Linked DNA regions of Homo sapiens: regions 1 and 3 are each linked to region 2. The links are contacts of gene promoters, found by promoter capture Hi-C in blood cells and fetal thymus (Javierre and others, 2016). All regions are on one chromosome and are shown on one strand. Each heading gives the region's core, a stretch centred on a gene start or on the middle of the fragment in contact. The rest is flanking DNA. Distances are from core to core; before and after follow the strand shown. Region 1 overlaps SLC9A7 (solute carrier family 9 member A7). Region 2 holds the start of CHST7 (carbohydrate sulfotransferase 7). Region 3 overlaps SLC9A7 (solute carrier family 9 member A7).

Region 1 (3,771 bases), core at 662-3,161, 78 kb after region 2:
ACATAGTATCTGAGGCCAAGTGAGCAAAACCCTCAGCTGTCCATCCACTGGTAGGCACATGAGAAGCCAATCCCCCAAACTATGTCTATATTCCAGAAACTGCATTTACAATGGGCCCAGACCAAGGAACCAAATATTTTTCTATTTTATCTTTTCTTCCCTTCATTTTTCTTTTTCCTTCTCCTTTTTTTTTTGGTGGGGGCGGGGAGAAAGAGTCTTTCCCACCATGATCTGCAGCAGCAGGGAAGCTTGAGAAAAAGTAGGGTCACTGCCTGCAGGCAACCCTGGGCAGTGTGAGGAAGGGCTGCCCATACTGCAGACGTAGTCATGAGCAAGAGGAACAGAACCTTTGGGTCATCCAAATCAGGGAACCTCCTGGATTGGAATTCATACAGCAATGAATTGTCAAAAATAACACTGGAGACTGACATGGTTGCTGACTTTTAGATTCACCAAGAAGAGCACTTTACAAAACAATCACCTGCCGAGCACCAGTTTAACAGAAAGGCCATCTTACATAGAAAAGGCAGAAAGGATGATCTTGGAATACATGCAGTCCTTTAAATCAAATACATTTAGTGTTATGAAATGCCACTTAAGCCTTCTTTTTTTCATCATAAAAACCCTGTGAACTAGCATGGAGTTAGTCACCTACCCAAAACAGAAATAGTAATTATTATTTTATGATGGTTTATATTATTATATTATTGTTATTTTATATTATTATTATGACTATTATTACTATAGCTTCTCCAACAGTGGTCGTCTCTGCATGTAGAAAATGGTGGAACAAGAAAAGGATACAAAAGCTCCGATGATGAAAATGGGGCTGAAAACGTGCTTCTGGAAGGTAAACAGTGCCAGGCCCATGTAGGAGAAGATGAAGTTCTCTGCCAGGAAATGTAACACCTCAAAGAGCTGCACAGAGAAGGGAAAAGGAAGCTGTAACCCTGCAGTTCCCCCTTCCCTGTGTTAACAAGCAACTCGTGAGTACCAAGCCTCTCTCTCACCTGCTTGGTTCGACTTCTTGATTCCACCGACAGATTGTTGTAGGTGTAATGAGCTTGTGTGATTCCACAGAAAAGGACAGCTACAACACCTGTTAAAACATCCCCCCAAAAAAAATCAATGGAAAAAAAAGAGGCAGGGGAAAAAAAAAACCCTGCTAGAACAAAAAGTTAAGGTAGGCAAGCCTAGCATATCCAACTTCCTGAATATTTTTGAAACTTTCCTATTGCTGGGTCGGGCGCAGTGGCTCACACCTGTAATCCCAGCACTGCAGGAGGCCAAGGCAAGCAGATCGCTTGAACCCAGGAGTTTGAGACCAGCCTGGGAAACATGGTAAAACCCCATCTCTACCAAAAATACAAAAAATTAGCCGGATGTGGTGGCGTGGGCCTGTGGCCCAGCTACTAGGGAGGCTGAGGTGAGAGGATCGCTTGAGCCTGGGAGGTCGAGGCTGCAGTGAGCCATGATCACGCCTCTGCACTCCAGTCTGGGCGACAGAAGGCAACCTTTTCTCAAAAGAAAAAAAAAAAAAAAGAAAAAGAAAAAAAAGAAAAAAAAGTTTCCTATTACTACTGAACACTCCTACAACCCCTCACCTCTCAACCTTTGTGTCTCCCAACCCTGCCTTCCTTCAAAGCCAAGTACCTCAACATCCCCTCCTTGTTCCAGTTTTAAGGGTATCTCCTGCCTCCTCTAAACTCCTCCAACTACCATCTGTAGTTGGCATATAGCATTCATTCCTTCAAAGAGACTGTGAGGGCCCATCCAAATTTTTGCCATATTCCTCACTGTTTTTAGAATGAATGAACTGAATTTCAAACTAATGCTTTATATACATATATATTTTTTGAGACAAAGTGGATTATATATTATATATCCCTCAGTGGACGGCAGTGGCATGATCTCGGCTCACTGCAGCCTCTATCTCCAAGGCTCAAGTGATCCTCCCACCTCAGCCTCCTGAATAGCTGGGACTACAGATGCACACCACCACACCCAGCTAATTTTTGTATTTTTTTGTAGAGATGGGGTTTCTCCATCTTGCCCAGGCTGGTCTTGAACTCCTGAGCTCAAGGGATCCACCTGCCTTGGCCCCAAAGTGCTGGGATTATATAGGCATGCGCACTGTGCCTGGCCTAGATTTTTTCACAGTCTAGGGCTTTAGACAAAATAGATCAAGAGTACTATTCCATTTATCCAAGCCCCGATCTTCTATATTTCTGGTTAATGGTAACCATTTTGTTGTGCGAGACAAATGACACACCTGGGACTTTGCCTACACATTTACAGATAACTGTTAAATTTTAAGGAAGTGGGGCATTTTGTAATGCTGCATATAAAGATTTGCTACAGTATTTTGAAAGGGTGACAAAAGTACATCCTAAGTACCTGGATTATGTACAGAACTGTACTTGAATTTTCTAATGGAAAAATTCAATGTTTTTTTAAAATGAAAGAATGTGAGGAAGTAAAACCACATGTTTCACCTCACTAATACTATATGAAACTGACACCATAAAAATGTGATATTGAAAAGCAATGATTAAATAGCCCAGAAACAAAACAATGAAAAACCGTGTTCACACTCATCTGAGCAGAGGCAAAATCACCCTTTAAAGGACACATATTTTGCTTGTTATTGCTACTGTTTGCAAAATAACATAGCAATCAAGGGAAATATACAAATAAAATTTTAATAGATTCTTTGCACCTTAACATCTACTTACAGTTAGAATGAGTACTCAAAAATGTAATTGACTTTGGAATGATAAACTTTATCATTAAAATCTACTTTTTCAGGCTGGGCATGGTGGCTCATGCCTGTAATCCCAGTGCTTTGAGAGGCTGAGGTAGGAGGTTCACTTAAGGTCAGGAGTTTGAGACCAGCCTGGACAACATAGCAAATGTTGTCCATCTCTACAAAGAATAAAGAAGTTAGCTGGGTGTGGTACGTGCCTGTAGTCTTAGCTACTTGGGAGGGTGAAGGGGGAAGATCCCTTGAGCCTAGGAGTTCGAGGTTACAGTGAGCTATGATTGTGCTGCTGCACTCCAGCCTGGGTGACACAGCAAGACCCTGTCTCTAAAAAAATAAAATTAAAAAAAGTCTAGCTTTTTGGAAAGTAAATAATCCATTTAAGACAGAACAATAGCCTTGCTCAGCAATCCTCCATACGGACACTTGCTGAACAGTTAAACTCTGTGCAGCTGTTATCTAAGAATTCTTCCCTTCCTTCAAGTTCCCACAGACCCCACTACAGTGAGGGGAAGGGTGGTCCAAGAGTAGAAAAAACCTACCTGTAAATCCGCAGGCTTCTGCCAAGAGAAACGTGCTCCAGGACATGAGGAAGAACAGCGCCGTCTCCAGCAGGGGGAAGCAGTGCAGTTTGGTAAACTTAGTCACGTTGGCATTCTGTCAAGGACCCTGTCTCCAGGTACATGTATCAGGGCCACCAAGAACCATACTCCACTAGCCCAGGACCCCTCCCCAAAGGGCTAGCCTTTCCCTTCAACCTTTTTTTTTTTTTGGAGGCTCTAAAGCTGCTGGAGATTTCTTAAGTAATACAAATTAAGCTTTCCAGTGGAACACAAGTTTTGTAGGGGCTGGAGAGAGGAAGAAACAGGGAGACATTGTTTAATGGGTACAGAGCTTCTGTTTCGGATGATGAAAAAATTCTGAAAGTAGACAGGGAGATGGCTACATGACATTGTGAATGCGGAATTGTGCACGTAAAGATGGTTAAATGACAAATCTCGTTGGCTATA
Region 2 (3,774 bases), core at 311-2,810:
GGAAGAGGGGTATCAGAAGTCTGAGGAGACTAGAGAAGGTTTGAAATCATCATAATGGAACTGGAGACTGGGAAGTGACATGAAGAACCTAAGATTTCAGCAACCATTTCAGGTTGATGATTATGAGGTTATCTTGATGCTGATCTGTTCTGTGGGCTCCCAAAGTGCTGAGATTACAGGCGTGAGCCACTGTGCCTGGCTCACACCTGTGGAGAAATGTTTCGCAGTGGTGTTTGCAGGCACAGAGAAAGCCAAAAGCAGGGTTTGGGGGATTTTGCTAGATGAGTAATGAAAAGGCAGAGGGCACGTGAGTTTAGCTTATTGGAGGGAGTGTTATTAAAATAATGGTATGGCATCTTTCAGCTGAATATGAAAAATTGAGAAGAAAGTGGGGGTGGTGGTCAAAAAGTGGAGGTTGGAGAATAGGGAAGATTTGAACAACTGGCTGGAAGAAGAGGGGAATTGTGGAAAGAAAACGAAATGCTTGAGTCAGTGGTTTCACAGGTGGAGTAGCTTCCGTGATGAAAAAGACCAGTGGAGAGCATTGCATATGTTCTCACTCTTCCAATTTGAACACCTTCCCCTGGTGGAGATAAGTAGATATGCTTTCTATGTTTTATTAACTTTACAACACCTTCCCCAAGCTGGTGAAAGGAAGCTCTCACTTCCTTATTCATTAGCCTGATGAAACAGAGCAAAATGTATCTTTTTTGGTTCTGTTTTGAATTTTAGTAACTCTAGTCTTCATCTGCCTGTTGGACTTCCTGTCTCTTTTTCATCTATCTTTGGGTACACATTTCTTCTTACGGGTCCTTTTAAACACCGAGCTCCTGAGAAAGGTCACCATTCTACCACTTTGATTCTGTAAATGTCTTTTGCTCATAGGTGTCAGAATAGGCTGGGTTATACTGTGGTAACAACCCCCAAATCTCGCAATCCCAGGAGGTACATGGGTACTAAGAATTATTCACATTTTACAAATGACCAAACTGGGCCCCAGAGTATTGGTAAAATGTGCAGAGCCCATCAGCTGGTGAAACCCTAAGGAACACAACACTTAGAATTTCACAAAGGCTAGACTTTATGAAATGTGCTGCGTGGATGCAGTAGTATCTCCAACCCCCCTGGACCGCTCTGCCACGTACAATCTTCTATCTTTCAGTCCGGAACTCAGTAACACCCACTCCAGGGCTGATGGGGGCGCTGGATGTATAGTGGCGAGTGTTTATCTGCCTAGGATAGCGATGGCTAGGCAGGGGACATAAAACAGAAGAGGCAGTGACCTTCTCCGGGTGGGGTCTATGGCCCTTTACTGGGTACATTCTGTACACACAGGCCCCTCCTTTGCCTGAAGTCATTGATGAAGACTTCATTACGGAGGGTTTGGGGAAAGGTGGGGGTCTGGCTGGGTAAGCCGGCGTCCCAGCCCCGCTACAGCCCCGCCCAGATCTGGCAGAGCCGTGGGCGAACCCAGGCGGGCAGAAAGGCGGGGCGGGCGGCTGCCAAGCCGGCCAATAGGCGGCTCTCCGGCTGCTAAGCCGAGAGGGCAGGGGCGCCGTCAGTAGCACCACCGCCTTCCAAGTTTCCCCTTGTGGATGCGCGGCCCCGCGGCTCTGCTCCTCCCGGCGCAGAGGGGCCGGGAGAGGCCACAGGAGCGGACCTGGCACGGGATTTCTGAGGAACGGGAGAAGACTGGCGCCCGACCCGCTCTGGAGGGTCGGTGAACGATGAAGGGCCGGCGGCGGCGACGCCGAGAGTACTGCAAGTTCGCGCTGCTGTTGGTGCTGTACACGCTGGTGCTGTTGCTCGTCCCCTCCGTATTGGACGGCGGCCGCGACGGGGACAAGGGCGCCGAGCACTGCCCCGGCCTGCAGCGCAGCCTGGGAGTGTGGAGCCTGGAGGCGGCGGCGGCCGGCGAACGCGAGCAGGGAGCGGAGGCGCGGGCCGCCGAGGAAGGGGGCGCGAACCAGTCTCCTCGGTTCCCAAGCAACCTCAGCGGCGCTGTCGGGGAGGCAGTGTCTCGCGAGAAGCAGCACATCTACGTGCATGCCACCTGGCGCACCGGCTCGTCCTTCCTGGGCGAACTCTTTAACCAGCACCCGGACGTTTTCTACTTGTATGAGCCCATGTGGCATCTATGGCAGGCGCTGTATCCGGGCGACGCCGAGAGCTTGCAGGGCGCGCTGCGCGACATGCTGCGTTCGCTCTTCCGCTGCGACTTCTCCGTGCTGCGGCTGTACGCGCCGCCGGGGGACCCCGCTGCGCGCGCCCCGGACACGGCCAATCTTACCACGGCCGCCCTCTTCCGCTGGCGGACTAACAAGGTCATCTGCTCGCCGCCACTGTGTCCTGGCGCACCCCGTGCCCGGGCCGAGGTGGGCCTCGTCGAGGACACCGCCTGCGAGCGCAGCTGCCCACCCGTGGCGATACGCGCCCTGGAGGCCGAGTGCCGAAAGTACCCGGTGGTGGTCATCAAGGACGTGCGCCTGCTCGATCTGGGCGTGCTGGTGCCCCTGTTGCGTGATCCAGGCCTCAACCTGAAGGTGGTGCAGCTTTTCCGCGACCCGAGGGCGGTGCACAACTCGCGCCTCAAGTCTAGGCAGGGACTGCTGCGCGAGAGCATCCAGGTGCTGCGCACCCGCCAGAGGGGCGACCGCTTCCACCGTGTGCTGCTGGCGCACGGCGTGGGTGCTCGCCCCGGGGGCCAGTCTCGCGCGCTGCCCGCCGCGCCGCGCGCCGATTTCTTCCTGACCGGTGCGCTCGAGGTGATCTGCGAAGCCTGGCTGCGCGATCTGCTTTTCGCGCGCGGCGCGCCCGCCTGGCTGCGGCGCCGCTACCTGAGGCTGCGCTATGAGGACCTGGTGCGGCAGCCACGCGCCCAGCTGCGCCGCCTGCTGCGCTTCTCCGGGCTACGCGCGCTCGCAGCGCTCGATGCCTTCGCGCTCAACATGACTCGCGGCGCGGCCTACGGCGCCGACCGGCCCTTCCACCTGTCAGCGCGCGACGCCCGGGAGGCGGTGCACGCCTGGCGCGAGCGCCTGAGCCGAGAGCAGGTGCGCCAGGTGGAGGCCGCCTGCGCTCCAGCCATGCGTCTGCTCGCCTACCCTCGCAGCGGAGAGGAGGGCGACGCGGAGCAGCCCAGGGAAGGGGAGACGCCGCTGGAGATGGATGCCGACGGCGCCACGTAGCCTCCCATCCCTGTCCCCGGCACGGATCCGGGTAAGGTGGCCCGGGGCAAGGCAGGGACCGGGACTGGTCTTCCGGGAGCCTGGAATGGCCTGGGGAGGGGGAAGTGTAGGGGGGAGGGTACCATGCTGGATCCCATTCTATCAGATCAGGTCCAAGAGGATGGGAAAGTCCTGCTCGTAGAATTTGGTAGATTCATCGGAATCTCCAGCTTAGCCTCGCGCCTCCTTAGAGGGAGATCCTGAGATGAGAGAGGATATTTAGGCGTGACTGAGGTGGAAGCCAGGTCTCTGCATTCCCATTCCCCTGTATGAAGTAGGAGGTTTCAGAGGGCTGAGGAGAGTAGAGAAGGTTTGAAACAGTCATAATGAGCCGTGAGACTGGGAATTGACATGTGGAGTATAGGATTTCGGAAACCATTTGAGGTTGATGATTATGGAGTTATCTTGATGCCAGTTTGTCCTGTGAGGAGACTTTGCAATGGTGTTTACAGGCACAGAGAAAGCCAAAAGCAGAGAGTTTGGTGGAAAGGCATTGATTCTAACCCTACCTATCCCTAATCTTTCTGTTTCATGTTTCTTCTCTGTC
Region 3 (3,713 bases), core at 319-2,818, 120 kb after region 2:
GAGGCAGGAGAATCGCTTGAACCTGGGAGGTGGAGGTTACGGTGAGCCAAGATCGTGCCATTGCACTCTAGCCTGGGCAACAAGAGCGAAACTCCGCCTCAAAAAAAAAAAAAAAAAAAGAGTTATAGTTTGTTTACAGGCACAGCAGCACTTGTTATTGTCTTATGATCATACCTGTTTTAGAGAATGTTCAGAGGTATCTCATTGTAGTTTTAATGTGCATTTCCCTAATGCCTAAAGATGCTGAGCATCTTTTTATGTGCTTATAGGCCATTGTATATCTTCTTTGGTGAAATGTCTCGTCATTCAAATCTCTTGCCATATTTTAACTCAGGTTCTCTTATTGAATGGTAAAAAAAAAACCCAAACTTTTTGTTTTCTGGATAGAAGTCCCTTATTGAAAATACAATTTGAAAATATTTTCCCCAAATCTATGACCTATATTTTTCCTTTCTTTTTTAAAATTTCTCTGATGTTGTCTTAAAATTTTTTTTTTGCTTTATTGTTATACAATGAATTATTTTTTCTTTTGGTGTACAGTTCTATGAATTTTAACACACATATAGATTCATGTAAGCACCACTGCAACAAGGATACCAAATAGTTCTACCACTCCCCCAAAACTCTCTTGTACTATCTCTTCACACTGATACCTTCATCCTACATATTAACCCCAGCAACCACTGCTTTTTGTTTTGTTTTGTTTTGTTTTGTTTTTTCCATTAATACAGTTTTGTCTTTGCAAGGTTAAATACATGGAACCATGCAGTATGTAACCTTTTGAGACTGGCTTCTCTCACTCAGCGTAACACCTTTGAGGTTCATCCAAGTATTGTGTGAATTAACACTTCATCTCATTTTACTGCTAAGTTGTATTCCATTGTATAAACACTCACCTACTGAGGGATATCTGGCTTCTTTCCAGCTTTTGGCTGGCACAAATAAAGCTGCCATGAACACCCATGAACAAGTTTTTATATGAACATGTTTTCATTTCTCTAAGGTAAATACCCAGAGTGGGACTGCTCGGTCATATGTGCAGCATATCTTTAACTTTATGAGAAACTGCAAGCCATTTCTCAAAGTAATTATGCCTTTTTTTTTTTTCAGTTCTTTTTTTTTTTGTTTAAGTTCTGGGATACATGTGCAGAACGTGCAGGTTTGTTACATAGGTATACATGTGCCATGGTGGCTTGCTGCACCTATCAACACATCATCTAGGTGTTAAGCCCCGCATGCATTAGATATTTGTCTTAATGCTCTCCCTCCCCTTTCCCCCTACCCCCTGACAGGCCCTGGTGTGTGATGTTCCCCTCCTTCTGTCCATGTGTTCTCATTGTTCAACTCCCACTTACGAATGAGAACATGCGGTATTTGGTTTTCTGTTCCTGTGTTAGTCTGCTGAGAATGATGGCTTCCAGCTTCATCCATGTCCTTGCAAAGGACATGAACTCATTCTTTTTTATAGCTGCATAGTATTCCATTGTATATATGTGCCACATTTTCTTTATCCATTCTATCAAAGAAATACCATTTGACCCAGCAATCCCATTACTGGGTATATACCCAAAGGATTATAAATCATTCTACCATAAGGACACATGCACACGTATGTTTACTGCAGCACTATTTACAATAGCAAAGACTTGGAACCAACCCAAATGCCCAACTATACCATTTTTTAACCACTGTCCCCTACAGCATCATATGAGGGTTCTAGTTGCTCCACATCCTCATCCACATTTGGTATTGCCAATATCTCTCATTTTAGCCATTCTATTGTAATAGGTGTGTAGTGGTATTTCACCATACTTTAAATTTGCATTTCCCTAATGGCTAATGATGTTGAATATCTTTTTGTGTACTTATTGGCAATCCTAATACCCTCTTCAGAGAAATGTTTCTTCAAGTTATTTGCCCATTTTAAAAACTGGGTTGTTTTCTTATGGGTTCCTTATATATTCTGGGTTCCCTTATACATTTTGGGTTCCTTATATATTCTAGATACAAGTCCTTTGTCAGATATATGATTTGCAAATATTTTCTACCAGACTGTAGCTTGTCTTTCCAGCCTCTTGACATTGTCTTTGGCAGAGCAAAATTTTTTTACTCTGATAGATTAAATCTAATTTATCCATTTTATTTTATTGCTTGTGGCTCTGGTATCATATCTAAAAAACACTTGTCTAACCCAAAGTTATGAATATTTCTTATGTTTTTAAGTGTTTTATAGCCTTGATGCTTACATTTAGATCTCTGATACAATCTGAGTTAACTTAGTGTGTATGGTGTCAGGTTAAGGTCCAAATTCATCCTTTTGCATACGGGTATCTAATTGCTCCAGCACCATTTGTTAAAAATACGGTCTTTTCTCCAGTGAATTCTCTTGGTACCTTTGCTGAAAATCAACTGACCATAAACACAATGGTTTATTTCTGGAGCTGGTGGGAGAAATGGGAGCTGGTGGTCACTGCAGTCTATTCCACCTGCCTGTGATAAATCATCCAGAACATGGATCTGGCAGGGATGGGAGCAATCTTAAATGCCATAGACACCTACTATTCTTACCAAGATTCAGTAGATTTTCTTTAATAAATGTTCCTCAATTTAATTGACCTTTCATCAATTTACAGAGACTAAATAGTTATTTTTGACAACTTTGTCCAATTTTATTGCTGTGTTTTGGGAAGAAGATTTATTGAGCTCTCACACAGTCATTCCAGAAGTCCTCCCATGAGCATGAATAACAGAATTCCTACATGCTTGTTATCTTGCCATGTTTTATAAATGTATAAGAAGCAAAAATTTACTGAAAATGTTTGCTTTTGTATATTGTAGCAAATTAATTCTAAGGCATTATTTGTTGCTATTTACCAACTTTTCCTGATATATTTATTTTGTCTGGTAGTAATGAGGAAGCATAATGGAGAAGAATTTGGTAGATTCAGTGACAGAAGACCTGGGTAGGTAACTTCACTTTCCACCTAGCTACAATCCAGCACAAAGTACCTCTCTGCTGCTCATTTCTAAAATTGGGCTGTTGTAAGAATGTAGTGAGAACATGCATATGTCAAAACCCTTTATAAACTGTCAAAAGCTGTACAAATGCTGCTTTTTATGAGCCCTTTAGAATTAGTTATTTTCCTTTGCATCATCTCTTGCTATAAAAATAGTGCATATTGGGGATGGAGGTTAGGAAGACAAGTGATATGTGGGCTGGAGCAAAATAGAAAAAATATCTCTAGAAAAGTAGCTACAGAACTCACTGTTTTTGAAGTTGTCCTGTCCAGCAAAGGCACAGGACACCATAACTTCCTTATTTGTCCCTCTAGCAGCTTCCCAGGTGCCTGTAAAATGAGCACTTCTACAGCAATTTTACAGTTATATAGGGTTTTCACCAGAGGAAAATTTCAAGGGTAGGCATAATTGTCCTTGTATAAATGCTGATTTATTTAGAAGACTCTCCCAGGGATTTAGCAAAACACATAATGATAGTAATAAAACAGTATCATCATATAATGTATCATCATCAATCTTTGTGGCACTGTAGATTGGTAAACAGGCCAAAAAGTAAGCAACCTTACTCTATCAGTTTTCTTTTAATAAGAATTAAAAGACTGCAAGGAAGACAGGTTTCATGGAGCTAGCAACCTTACTATTAAAAATTCCCATTAAAATGGGAAATAAGTATCTGCCATATAATGGGCTAAACC

Evidence for each region. Contacts are between HindIII fragments. The CHiCAGO score rates a contact against its expected background, and 5 or more counts as called.
Region 1: a fragment that was not itself captured here is called in contact with the fragment with the promoter of CHST7 in region 2 in 1 of 17 cell types (neutrophils); the score reaches 5.5 in neutrophils.
Region 3: a contact is called between a fragment that was not itself captured here and the fragment with the promoter of CHST7 in region 2, in 2 of 17 cell types (neutrophils and monocytes). The highest score is 8.7, in neutrophils.

Annotation. Positions count from the first base shown.
Region 1 is chrX:46,650,306-46,654,076 of GRCh38, forward strand. SLC9A7 (solute carrier family 9 member A7) reads right to left here. Exons shown (of 17, transcript NM_001257291.2): 8 at 3,304-3,409; 9 at 1,011-1,099; 10 at 805-918. Among named protein-coding and RNA genes, the nearest start is that of CHST7, 78 kb to the left of the region's middle. The HindIII fragment of the contact is 3,331 bases long and covers 247-3,577 here.
Region 2 is chrX:46,572,205-46,575,978 of GRCh38, forward strand. CHST7 (carbohydrate sulfotransferase 7) reads left to right here and starts at 1,561. Exons shown (of 2, transcript NM_019886.4): 1 at 1,561-3,219. The coding sequence starts at 1,728. The coding sequence ends at 3,188. RefSeq lists silencers at 2,579-2,628, 2,749-2,808. The HindIII fragment of the contact is 5,347 bases long and covers 1-3,774 here.
Region 3 is chrX:46,688,498-46,692,210 of GRCh38, forward strand. The region is part of intron 1 of SLC9A7 (solute carrier family 9 member A7); the gene reads right to left. Among named protein-coding and RNA genes, the nearest start is that of SLC9A7, 69 kb to the right of the region's middle. The HindIII fragment of the contact is 5,375 bases long and covers 1-3,713 here.